Regions from separate parts of the Homo sapiens genome. Here all the other regions are linked to region 2. Evidence: promoter capture Hi-C in 16 types of primary human blood cells and fetal thymus (Javierre and others, 2016). All regions are on one chromosome and are shown on one strand. Each heading gives the region's core, a stretch centred on a gene start or on the middle of the fragment in contact. The rest is flanking DNA. Distances are from core to core; before and after follow the strand shown.

The links. The method cuts DNA at HindIII sites, captures the fragments that hold promoters and counts their contacts. A CHiCAGO score of 5 or more calls a contact.
Region 1: a fragment that was not itself captured here is called in contact with the fragment with the promoter of COMMD9 in region 2 in 1 of 17 cell types (M0 macrophages); the score reaches 6.0 in M0 macrophages.
Region 3: a fragment that was not itself captured here is called in contact with the fragment with the promoter of COMMD9 in region 2 in 3 of 17 cell types (erythroblasts, M2 macrophages and M1 macrophages); the score reaches 6.7 in erythroblasts.
Region 4: a contact is called between a fragment that was not itself captured here and the fragment with the promoter of COMMD9 in region 2, in 1 of 17 cell types (fetal thymus). The highest score is 5.4, in fetal thymus.

Annotation. Positions count from the first base shown.
Region 1 is chr11:35,800,625-35,803,324 of GRCh38, forward strand. The region is part of intron 4 of TRIM44 (tripartite motif containing 44); the gene reads left to right. Among named protein-coding and RNA genes, the nearest start is that of TRIM44, 140 kb to the left of the region's middle. The HindIII fragment of the contact is 2,248 bases long and covers 184-2,431 here.
Region 2 is chr11:36,287,952-36,290,774 of GRCh38, forward strand. COMMD9 (COMM domain containing 9) reads right to left here and starts at 1,473. Exons shown (of 6, transcript NM_014186.4): 1 at 1,411-1,473. The coding sequence starts at 1,461. RefSeq lists enhancers at 835-1,537, 1,374-1,623. The HindIII fragment of the contact is 8,947 bases long and covers 1-1,790 here.
Region 3 is chr11:35,818,202-35,820,983 of GRCh38, forward strand. No RefSeq gene overlaps it. Among named protein-coding and RNA genes, the nearest start is that of LDLRAD3, 120 kb to the right of the region's middle. The HindIII fragment of the contact is 2,076 bases long and covers 330-2,405 here.
Region 4 is chr11:36,749,513-36,752,381 of GRCh38, forward strand. The region is part of intron 3 of LOC107984326 (a long non-coding RNA gene); the gene reads left to right. Among named protein-coding and RNA genes, the nearest start is that of RAG2, 150 kb to the left of the region's middle. RefSeq lists an enhancer at 812-1,382. The HindIII fragment of the contact is 1,517 bases long and covers 531-2,047 here.

The sequences.
Region 1 (2,700 bases), core at 58-2,557, 490 kb before region 2:
CTCTCAGTACCGGGCATCAACCCAGTATTTGGGCCCAGCCAGAAAGAGGTGAAAGGACTTGGAACATTTAGGCCATCCTTCAGATTGTGGTGATGGGATAGAGAGGGGCACAGGAAGCAAAGAGAGACAGCTGTATGAATGAGAGCAAATTAATTAGCTCAGCAAGTCTATATGTTGGAGGGAAGCTTTCTTAGTTTTTGTCTGGTTTGGAGTTTTCCTAAACTTTGCTTAAAATGCAAGGCATCCTAATTTCCCAGATAAGGATACTGGGTCCTAGAGTCACACAGCAGAACCAGGACTAGAACTCTGGTATTTTCATCATGTTTTTCTCAGTTAGCCCAAAATAGACCAAGGACATTTTACTTTATTTTGTAAAGTTCAGATCCCTTAAAGCACAGTAACCTCCTTATTTTCAGCTCAGGCTGTTGGGGCAGGTGAGTGTGGGACAGAGGGGACAAAGAAGGCAACTCGCTCTGTCTAGTAAAGAAAGGTCCCTGGATCCGAGTGTTTAGTCTGTCTCCCCAGCAGTGCTGATCGCATATTTACTGCAACTAGGCAACCACTTCCTCAGATACTGAAAGTGTGAGACTTCCCAATTGGCTCCTTGTACAATGCCCAGGCAGTGTAATTTTTGGAGAATATTAAATCTATCTTTTTGAATTTCAGCTGACTCTAGCCTTCGTTCCTTGTCAATACCTCTTAATTCCACCATCCTCCTGAGTTAAATAATCCTTTTACAGCAATAATCAATTAATAGATAACCAAGAACTCAGAAGACATGAGTGATGCCAAGTCACATTAAGTTGTACTATATGCTTAGGAAAAGAAACTATTAAACTTGCAAAGTCAGAATGCCTGCTACCTGATTTATTAACTTCCCCTTTATGCCCCTAAAGCTCTGGGGACAGAAGCCAAAAAGCTAAGCTGCCTATATATGCAGCCTAACTAAAAAATGGTCACAGTGAAACACTGTAAAATGATTATGATAAAATATAATCATTTTATCAGCAGGTGTTTAGGGTCTGAATGTGGAGCTTATGGCATGCCTCTGACATTTCAGTTTCACAGGCACCACATCAGACAGTAAGCCCAACTCAGAGAAGGGATACAGCATTCTGCTTACTGGAATGCCTTAGTCTCATTCTGTCACCCCATCCCCTACCCACAACCAAGAAAGTGTTAAATTTCACACCATCCTCCTGGTCAGAATTTAGGAGCTCCCAGTTCCTTTAGCTAAACTTTTTTGTTTTACATCCCCTAAAAGAAATTTTAAAAGTATGTGCCTTTTTGCCCGTTTTTAAATTAATTCCTGAAATCATAGTATCAAGTGTAAATCGTTGCTAAGGGTGTGCTCACTGACATATTGTGTAGTTTATATGAGTTTTTATATATATTTTTGTCAAAACTTTGGCACTGTGAATTTAGCTTATTAAATTTACAAGCAAAGGTGCACTATATAATCTAATTGGCAAAGCCAATTTTGGTGGTCAAACCATCCAGCCAAATCAGACTTGCTTTCTGTCAGATTAAGTCTGATTTCATTTTTTTCAATACAAATAAACATTAGCACACACCTCATGATAACCACCTCACTTTTGAATTTGAAGTGTTAGATCGATGGATAGATAGATAAAACACACAGCCTTGCCAAGAGTTTCCTGCCTGAATGAAAAAAGAGATTGTCTCCTTTACTATTGCTTGCGGTTCTCTCATAGGACTCCTCTAAGGGAGACATTCTAAAATTGTTACATGCTAAGATTCAGAAGGGTGAGTGAGAGTAGCATTTCTGCGGAAGTGTGGGAGTATGGTGATCTGTAAAGTGGGAGTGGCTGAAACAAGAACCTTACAGAGCACAGGCATGTTTCTGAGAAGGTAAGTTTTAGGAAGCAGTATATATGGAAGTTAAGGATTTGGACATTAATTTTCTTAAAACTACCCAGGCCCAAATACTTCCTGGAAAGTAATTACATACCACAAGGGTATCCATACCCCAGTTTTAAGGCCACCACTTTTAGATACAGCAGTACCCTCAAACTAGATCAGTGACCGAGCTAAGGCCGGTTAACTAAACTTCACTCCGTATTTGTTCTCCCCAGTGTTTGGCAGGCATGACTTTTCTTGAGACCTGCCACCTAGAAGGGTCAGAGTGATACTCAGCCTTTCTAGTTAGTACCTGTATTTCATTAGGTCTGGGTTGTCATTTAAAAAACTCTCCAAGTGAGCAAAGCAGGATACTGTTGCTCTCCAGATATTTGAAGGGTATTTGGGGATAGGAACACACTTGTTCTGGAATGTAATGTTTCAGCTGCCAGAGCTAGGAACATTTGAGGGAAAGGCAGGAGGAGGCAGGTTTTTATTCAGGATAAGAAGGAAGGTGGGTTGAGGAAGAAGGGTAACATTTTTTATCATTTGTATTGCATAAAATACATAAAGCTTTCACAGTAACCCTGGAAGATAGCATTTCGATGAGGAAACTGAGATTCAGAGATGTTAGTGACTTACGTAAGATCCCACAGTTTATTAGTTAATAACAGGCATTTGAACCTAGTTCAGTCTGGTGACACAAAAGTAATTATGTAATGCTGCCTCTCTCATTGGTAAGTACCTGCTATAGAACGTGCTGTCTGCCTAACACCCTTAGTTTATTTAAAAAAAAAAAAAAAAATGAAACAGCCATTAACCTCTGAGTCCCACTCCAGT
Region 2 (2,823 bases), core at 223-2,722:
ATACTACACACTAATCTTTTAAAGTTTTTAAAAGAAAAGAGTGCATAAGACCAACAGGTATAGGGGCGGGGGTAGGTACAGAGCAGCCAAAATGAAGGTGAAAAGGCACTGGGTTGGGAGCTGAGAGCCCTAGATTGCCAGTCCCAGCTCTGTTACTTCATTTATTAATTCATTTAACAGCTATTTACTGAGCACGTGCTGTGTGCCAGGTATTATTGTTCTACTTATTGGGCATTAACACTTGTGAACAAAAGAGTAGATCCCCTTAGGAGTGGAGAATGCTAATGAACACTGAGAAGGCAATTAAAAAATAAATAAGTAAAACAAAACAGAGACTATTACATGGACCGATGATGATGATGTGCCATAAATTGAGGAGAGTAACTCAACCCTCTTCACCTGGTGTTTAAAAAAAAAAAAAAAGAGAGAGGAAGAAAGGAAAGGTCCCTGATGGATCTTACATTCTTATGAGACAGACGGACAACGGGCAAATAGCTAGCGACAAGTTCTACGAAGGAAAATAAAGCTGCCCTTTCTCCTACAGGGCAAATCATAAGTTAAATAATTCCGGCCAGGCGCGGTGGCTCACGCCTGTAATCCCAACACTTTGGAAGGCGGAGGCGAGTGGATCACGCGGTCAGGAGTTCAAGACCAGCCTGGCCAAGATGTTGAAACCCCGTCTCTACTAAAAATACATAAATTTGCCAGGCTTGGTGGCGGGCGCCTGTAATCCCAGCTACTCGGAAGGCTGAGGCATAGAATTGCTTGAACTCGGGGGGCGGAGGTTGCAGTGAGCCGAGATTGCGCCACTGCTCTCCAGCCTGGACAACAGAGCTAGACTCCGTCTCAAATAATAATAATACTTCATTTGAGCTTTACAAAGCCCTATGAAGTAGGTCCCTTTCAACCTCACAACTTTTCAAATGATTATCAGGAGTATGTCCTGCCCCTTTCGCAGGTCAAAGAGAGTAGGGAAAATCTGGACCTCAAGGGAACATTGAACGCACAGGTCATTCGGAGGGCTGGGCAGACGCAGTAGGAGATAATTTCTTAATTGTGCAATGCAGGAGGGGCTACGGGATGAAATGGGGAACTGACAACGTGGGTCTAGCAATTACCACTTCAATGCACCAATACCGAAAACCAATCCCAAAGACTAATAGCAGGAGGTTGTACTGCGCCTTCATGCCCATTATTTTATTTTTTTTTATCTTACGTTCCTGTCAAAACGATATTTTGTTCTTACTTTTTAAAAGCTCAGAAAGACGCAACGATTTGCCTGGGATCACACAGAGAACAAGCAGCAGAGTTGTGGCTCCAAACCAGGGTCAATTTGTTCCCAATTCCTGCTCCGTCTAAAGTCTCGGAGACAAAGGGCCACCTCACGCTGTCCCCACCCCTTCGACTTACCTTGAGCAGGCTCTGGAGTGCTGCAAAATGCTCCGCTGTCAGGGCAGCCATCTTGCCGAAGTCACATGACCGTGGCACCCAGGGAAGCGAGGTCACGTGGCTGTCGCTGTTGTCGCGGGGCCTGCCGGGGGCTGTAGTCCTTCAGAGTGGGGGAAGGCGTTTCGGTTGTGGTGCTGCGGCAGTGAGCGCGGATCAAGACGGACGCGGCGGCTGGATGACTAAACCCCGAGACTCTAGAACCAAAGGACTAGGGGGACCAGGGCGGAGGATGGTTTACTCGGGGAGGAAATTGGCTTGACTTGTCTACTTACCAAGTCAGGGAAACAGGTTTTCCCTTGACCCATGTGGGTGGGCTGGCGCACTTGGGGAATGCACCTGCAAGCTTGGCAGGCGCCTTGGAAACGTAGTTGTTCAGGAGTGATCGGCGTACCAGTGTTTGGAATGAAAATGAGGCTGTGCATATCGGGCTTCTTGGAATTGACACACACACATGCACACATCCTGTCTTGAATGTAAAATTACTTCTGCGTATATAGTTTTTCAGCCTATGTAGTAGGTTGGAGCTGGTATTATTAGTATTATCCAGATTGGGAAATAATCATTTAGGGTTTTTAGTAACTTTCCCATAGTCATAGAGAAGATCTGATTACAAGAGCAGGTGAGGAAGTGTTTGGGAGAGGGGACAAGAGAGGAATGGAATGAAAGCTACTACCTAGCTAGGTTCTTGTTATACGGGGGTGAGATGGGGGAGGAGGTTAATGGAAATGATTTAGTTCATTTATTCAAAAAGGTAATTATAATGAATATAATTGTAAAGAGTGATTTTGCACTGGCAGTACTGGACTCTGATTTGCCCTGTTCTCAGAGACCGTACATCAAAACAGACATTTCCTTTATCTACCTTTAGTATTTGGGTGGCTCTTTTCTTTTCCTACCCTCCACTTTTTTTTAAGCAAATTCCAGCTCAAAAAATGGGTTCTGATATATTCGAGCTTAAGAAAGAATGCCCATTTGTGAAATTCCAGAAATTGGTAAGCTGCTAAGGACATTTGTTCCTTTGTCTCCTCTCCTCCCCCTTCCCCTTCCCCGACTCCATTTTCTGTGGGGATGTTGTCAAGGCCCAGGAAACCAAAAATCAAATTGTCTAAGGAGGAACCCATTCCTGGATTAGAAGATTTTAGAACCATTTTGTCACAGGGTCCTGATTCTAGCTCTCTTTCTTGGCCTCTCTTTTCCATGAACCCTCATGGCCTGATTCCTGGTTTCTGTTATAACTCAATGTAGGTTCTAGGTTTAACTCCTGCCTGTATCTATAGGGCTGGGCCCATTGTCTTGGGTTAATTGAATATTTGTTAAATAAACAACCACCCAAAAAAGTGATTAGACTAAGATGAAATTTTGTGACTTATTTGA
Region 3 (2,782 bases), core at 118-2,617, 470 kb before region 2:
TCTAGTTTTCTGGCAGTTCTGTGTAACAATTTTAGGAAACACTGATTTAGAGATGAATCTAACTCTTCCTGAGTTAACTGTTGAGAGAACAAAGGCCCAAAGAGATTCAAGGATTTGCTTAAGGTCACCTGGCTATTGGGAAAGCTGAGTTCTCCATATTTGACCACTGCATCCCAGAAGAGAATGTCTGTTTAGTGACTCAAGAGCCCACATTAGAACATTCTAGGAGACATCCCAAGGTTTCTCCCTTGATTCTAAAGGGAAGAGTTTGATAGGCTGCAATTCTCTGTCTCAGGACTTGCACAGACATTAACGTTCAGCATAGTGCAAGCTTCTTTGTCAGTGTGGTGCCGTCGGTAATATGGGGTGCAGCGCTGACAAGCTATGGTTCTCTCTCTCTTCCTCTCTCTCTCTCTCTTCTTTCCTCCCTCCCTCCTGGTTCTCTTTTCCAGGTTACATTCCAGGCTCACTATTGTCATACTCTTGAGTGATAGTAAAGAATAAAACAGCACTGACCTGCTTGATTAAGATCTCTACCGCATCGATATACTGATCACCAGGGTATTCAGGTGCCCAGTAAGCCTTGTGCATGGGAAGCCTCTTGACTCAAACGAATGGTGACTGGGAAACTGAGGTGGAAGGCCACTAAAGGTGGCAGTTTGTATCTGGCCTCTTAACAGTGTTCACCATGAAACATTCTCAAATGCCTTCCCTGATATGTTAGCCTGAGGCATCAGAGGAACCGTCAGGTGCCTTGTGGGGCTATCAGTGTGTGACAGGCAGCAACATGGGGGTGGGAGGTGTAGTAAGAGTAGGTGTGTGTGTGCAACACCAGAGGGAAATATAGGCATATCAGGAAGAATAATGACTTGGCACCCCTCCAAACTGCTATTGTTTAGATATTAGGTCAACATTTATTTAGAGAAGATGGAGGCAGGTGTGGGGTAGGGAGCTGGAGTCTGTGTCCCCACCTGCTTACCACACTCACAGAAATAAAAGCCCGGGCCCTCTTTTTAGAAGACCATTTAGGGACCATCTGTTGTTATTCCAGCCTAACCTTTTTGGGGTCTCACCCTATCCACTTCCAAATGGCTTTCAAATTATTTCTTCCAATCCCATACAATTACCTCCCTGAAAGGAGTTCTTGGAAGTGCAGTTTTGTCCATCTCATTAGTGAGGTTTTTGCAGCACTGCAACCCCCTCCCCCAACAAACTGGTCATATGTTGTGTGTGTGGTGATCAGGCTGGTGATTTAGTGAGGAGCCCACTCCTCATCTAGAAAGTATGCGTGACACCCAGATCACAACACTCCCCATGTGGTCACCGGCTGTCTCGTACAGAGTTCATGAACTTCCAAGTAAGAAGAGACACAAGAGTGGTATTTTCTTAGGAGATTATTAGACCCACCAGAAGGTAACAAGAGCATTTAGCAATGATAAAGAATAAATATCCCCACTTACTGGGGCAGCTCTCTTTCCTGTCTCTTCCTCATCCCTTTCCTCAGCTTCCTCCTACTCCTCTCCCAGAAATAAAGGAGCTTCATCTAGAAGAGCTCATGGACAACAAACATGCCTGGAAAAAGCTATTGCCTGATTGGCTCCCAGTTTTCATTGTGATGTTTCACACCTATCAAGTGACTTTGTTTTTAGAAATGCACAACCAAAGTATGGCCTTGAATTGGATCAACCCACCATCTCACTTCACAATACTCAGCCTAACATGACAAAACCACCAAGACAACCAGTTAATTTAACTGGAAAAAAAATCAGTTCAGCCAGTTGTTTGGCAGAGGTTAAGTAGAACTGTGTTGATTGAATTATGCATTTTAAAAGGAGGTTGCATAGGTACAGCTGAAGTGAAATCCTTTTGTGACCTTGAACTTGGATTTTTATATCAACATCAAAGATTTATTAATGAAGGCTCAAGATTTCCAATAAAAACTTTTCCAATTAAATGTTTCCAGTTGTCTTCCTTTCCCAGGTGAAGTGGCCAACTTCACTAAGCCCAGTGGCTGCCTTTTGCCCAAGCTCTCTATTCTTGAAATAGAGGTAAGTTGTCTTTGAGTGAATAATGGGAGGCATTCTAGATCAGAATGCCTGGGTCTGGCATTTACTAAGTCATTTTAAACCAGTAACTTATATGCCCTTTGCCTCCATTTCCTCATCTCCAAAATAGAACTTGCCACACTGGGTTGATAAGAGGATCAAATAAGATAATGGGTGAAAAGTGCTTAAAACCGTACCTGGCAAATAGTAAGTTATCAAGAAATGAAATAGTTATCAATATTAGCATCATTATCATAACTTGATTGGTGTAGTAATAAAACAGGTTATTGGATAGGAAATTTGGTGGTATCCAACCCCATTTTTAGAAATCTTCCTGAAAGAAATATGACATAGGTACAAAGCTTTTTGCATAAGAATGATCATGTAGCATTGCTTTTAAGGGCAAAAAATGTGGTAATGACGTCAGTATTCATTAATAGGGGACGGGCTAAGTGTCTGAGGATCTGTCCTTGTAGAAGAACACTCTCCAGAAAATCAAGGTTAGGTTTGTCTCTGCTGACTCAGCCCAGCAAACAGTGCTTCCGAAAATCACTGAGGCCTCCAAGTTCAGATTGGCAATCACAACTTTCCTTCCTGCAATCACAGAACATTCTCTGGGAAGCTAATCAGGATGACTTATCTTTAACTGGGAAGAGTGGATTTGTGTCACTCCAGCCAAACTCTGAAGAGGCACAAGCCCTAATGAGGAAGAGATCAAGGAACATTGTTGAACGATA
Region 4 (2,869 bases), core at 39-2,538, 460 kb after region 2:
AGCTTGCTTTCCTTTGCCAAATTTTTAAAATAAGAAATCTTTTTTTTTTTGCTTAATCTTTTATTTTAGAGTTGTGTATTGATTTTCTATGACTGCCATAACAAATTATTACAAACTCAGTGGCTCAAAATTTAGGTCAGGCATGGTTTCTTATGCCTGTAATACTAGTACTTTGGGAGGCTAAGGTGGGAGGATGGCTTGAGCCCAGGAGTTCGAGGCCAGTTTGGGTATTAAAGTGAGACCCTATCTCTTAAAAAAAAAATAGCCAGGCACAGGGGTATAGCTTCAGCTACTTGGTAGGCTGAGGTGGGAGGATCGCTTGAGCCCAAGAGTTTGAGGTTGCAGAGAGCTATGATCGCATCACTGCACTCCAGCCTAGGTGACAAAGCGAGACCATTTCAATTGGGGTTTGAGGTGATGATTCGAAATCTACTCCTGAAATAATGAAAGGTTGCATTTTATAAAATGTTCTCATTTTCAAGGTATTTCCAGTTTTCCCTACCTATGGTAGCAAAATATAGTGCTTAAGAAGCTTGGGTTTTTAACCCAGTTGGACCTGGTTTCAAATGGTGTTTCCACTACAAACTTACTGTGTAACTTAGGGCAAGTGGATTAGCTCCACTGAGACTCAGTTTCCTAATCTATAAAATGGTATTGATAATAACACTTGCCTACATTGATAAGGCATGTTTTGGTTTTGCACAAAACCAAAAAATTGAAATCAAATTATTTGAGCAATAAAGTCCAGGAGCCATAGTAGCGTAAGGCAGTGCTTGGTCTGGGATCTTGAGCCCGTTTTCTCATTCTTTACTTCTGTGCTCTGTGTCCTCATTAATGGCTCTCAACTTGGAAGGATATCTTCTGATGTGCCCAAAGTGTCTGCTGGCACATAATGGGGCCATGTGCTCCATGTTCAAGCTCTGCAGGAATGAAAGAGATGATCTCAACATTCATGGTGAATTACTGAGGTTTCTTCTGACTGTACTGCTGAGGTCTTGTCGGCCCAATCAGAGAACCAACCAGTCACTGTGGTGAGGAACAGAGGGTGTGTAAACTGATTAAGCCAATCAAGATCCACCCCTGGAACTGGGGTTGAGGTCATTGCCACAAAACCACATGAGGGCAAATGGCAATGAGGGGTTGCTTTTCATAGGGAAATTTAGAGCATTATCAGGAGAGAGGGGGAATGGATGCTGGGTAGCAAATAGCAGCAGGTGTGTCCAGTTGGCTCCTTCTCATGAGATAATGAATATAAAGTATTTATTACAATCCTTGGCATGTAAGAAATGCCCAGTAAATATTAGCTTATTTACTTATTATTTTTCTACCTCTTAAGTGCGTGTGTACTCTTAGAGTTGTGTTTTGGTTTTCTATGACTTCCATAACAAATGACTACAAACACACACTATATATGTGTGTGTGTGTGTGTGTGTATACACATACACTTAAGAGGTAGAAAAATAATAAGTAAATAAGCTAATTTTCTTCTACCTAAGTGTGTGTAGAAATAAATACAATAAATAAATTATTAAATAAAATAAGCTAATATTAGTGTTTTACCTCTTAAGTGTGTGTGCACACACACACACACACACATATATACATATACACACACCTAAGAAGTAGAAAATACACATTCCCACAAATGATATGTGTACATGTAGAAAAAGTAGAAAGTACAGATAAATAGAGCAAGCACCTTTTATTGCTTTTATTGACAGCATTCCTCTTGTGGGAAGAGGGCTCAGGACAGCCTTTTTGCTGATAGGAAACTGAGACCCTTAGTGGAAAGAAGACTTGCCAAAGTTCACTTAGTGGAAGGATGGAAGCCAGACCCTAGGCCCCTTGGCCCCCAGCCCAGCTGTCTTTTTCTCTTGATTGCCTTGCTTTCATTAGCTGTGCTGCCTTTTCCAGGTGCCTTTCTGGAGCTGGACTTGGCAGCTAAACTGACAATGATGTATGTCCCTAGGAGTCCCCAGGAAGGGGACTTTGGAGCCACTATAAACACGCGGGGTAAGGACAGCAGCTACATCTGGAAGCCTGCAGAAGCTTCCATTCCAGGAAGTGCTGTCTGCTACGCTGTCCCTGTGTGTACCCCTTTTGCTGTCATAGTCTGCTTCAAACCTGTCAAAACATGAAAAACTGCCTATTAGGAGGCCGCTTCCAGCTGTTCTGTTCTATGCTCACTTTATAGCAATTTCCTCCCACTTTCTCCAAATGTTTCCATTAGGGAGGGAAGGGTCCCCAATGTAAGATTGCTCCCTGATGTTAGCAGGACACAAAATAGCCAAATGTATGTCAGAAAGCTGAAATCAGTTATTGCTGACAACAGTAATAGTGGTGTCTGGAATATGACCTAGTTTATTGCTCAGCACCTGGTCTTAGTTGATAAATTTTTTTTGAGAGACCAACTGGTCATGTAGGCATCCAAAGCAAAAAACAGCAGTGTGGTTATGGTAGGTACAAGTTGAGAGAGAGATAGAGAGAGAGAGAGAGAGGGAGAAGGTGACAGGAGAGAGCACAGATATGCTGATTTATTACCGGTAACAATTGCTACCATTCATTAAGTGTCAGGCACTGGGATATGTGTTTTAAACACATGTTCTTGAACCTTTACAACAACCATACAAAATAAATATCTTTATCCCCGTTCCAGTGATTAGAAAACTAGGGCCCAGAGAGGCTAAGCAACTCACCCAAGGTCACACAGCTACTAAATGAAGAAGCCCAATTCGGACCCAATTCTGTCTGATTCTAGAGCTCTTTATACATTATGCTACTTCTTGTTTATCATATTCAGCTGGTGTCTTCTGGGTCACTTTCCCATGAAAGTACTACTAAAATGATTTCACACACACACTAACCAGTC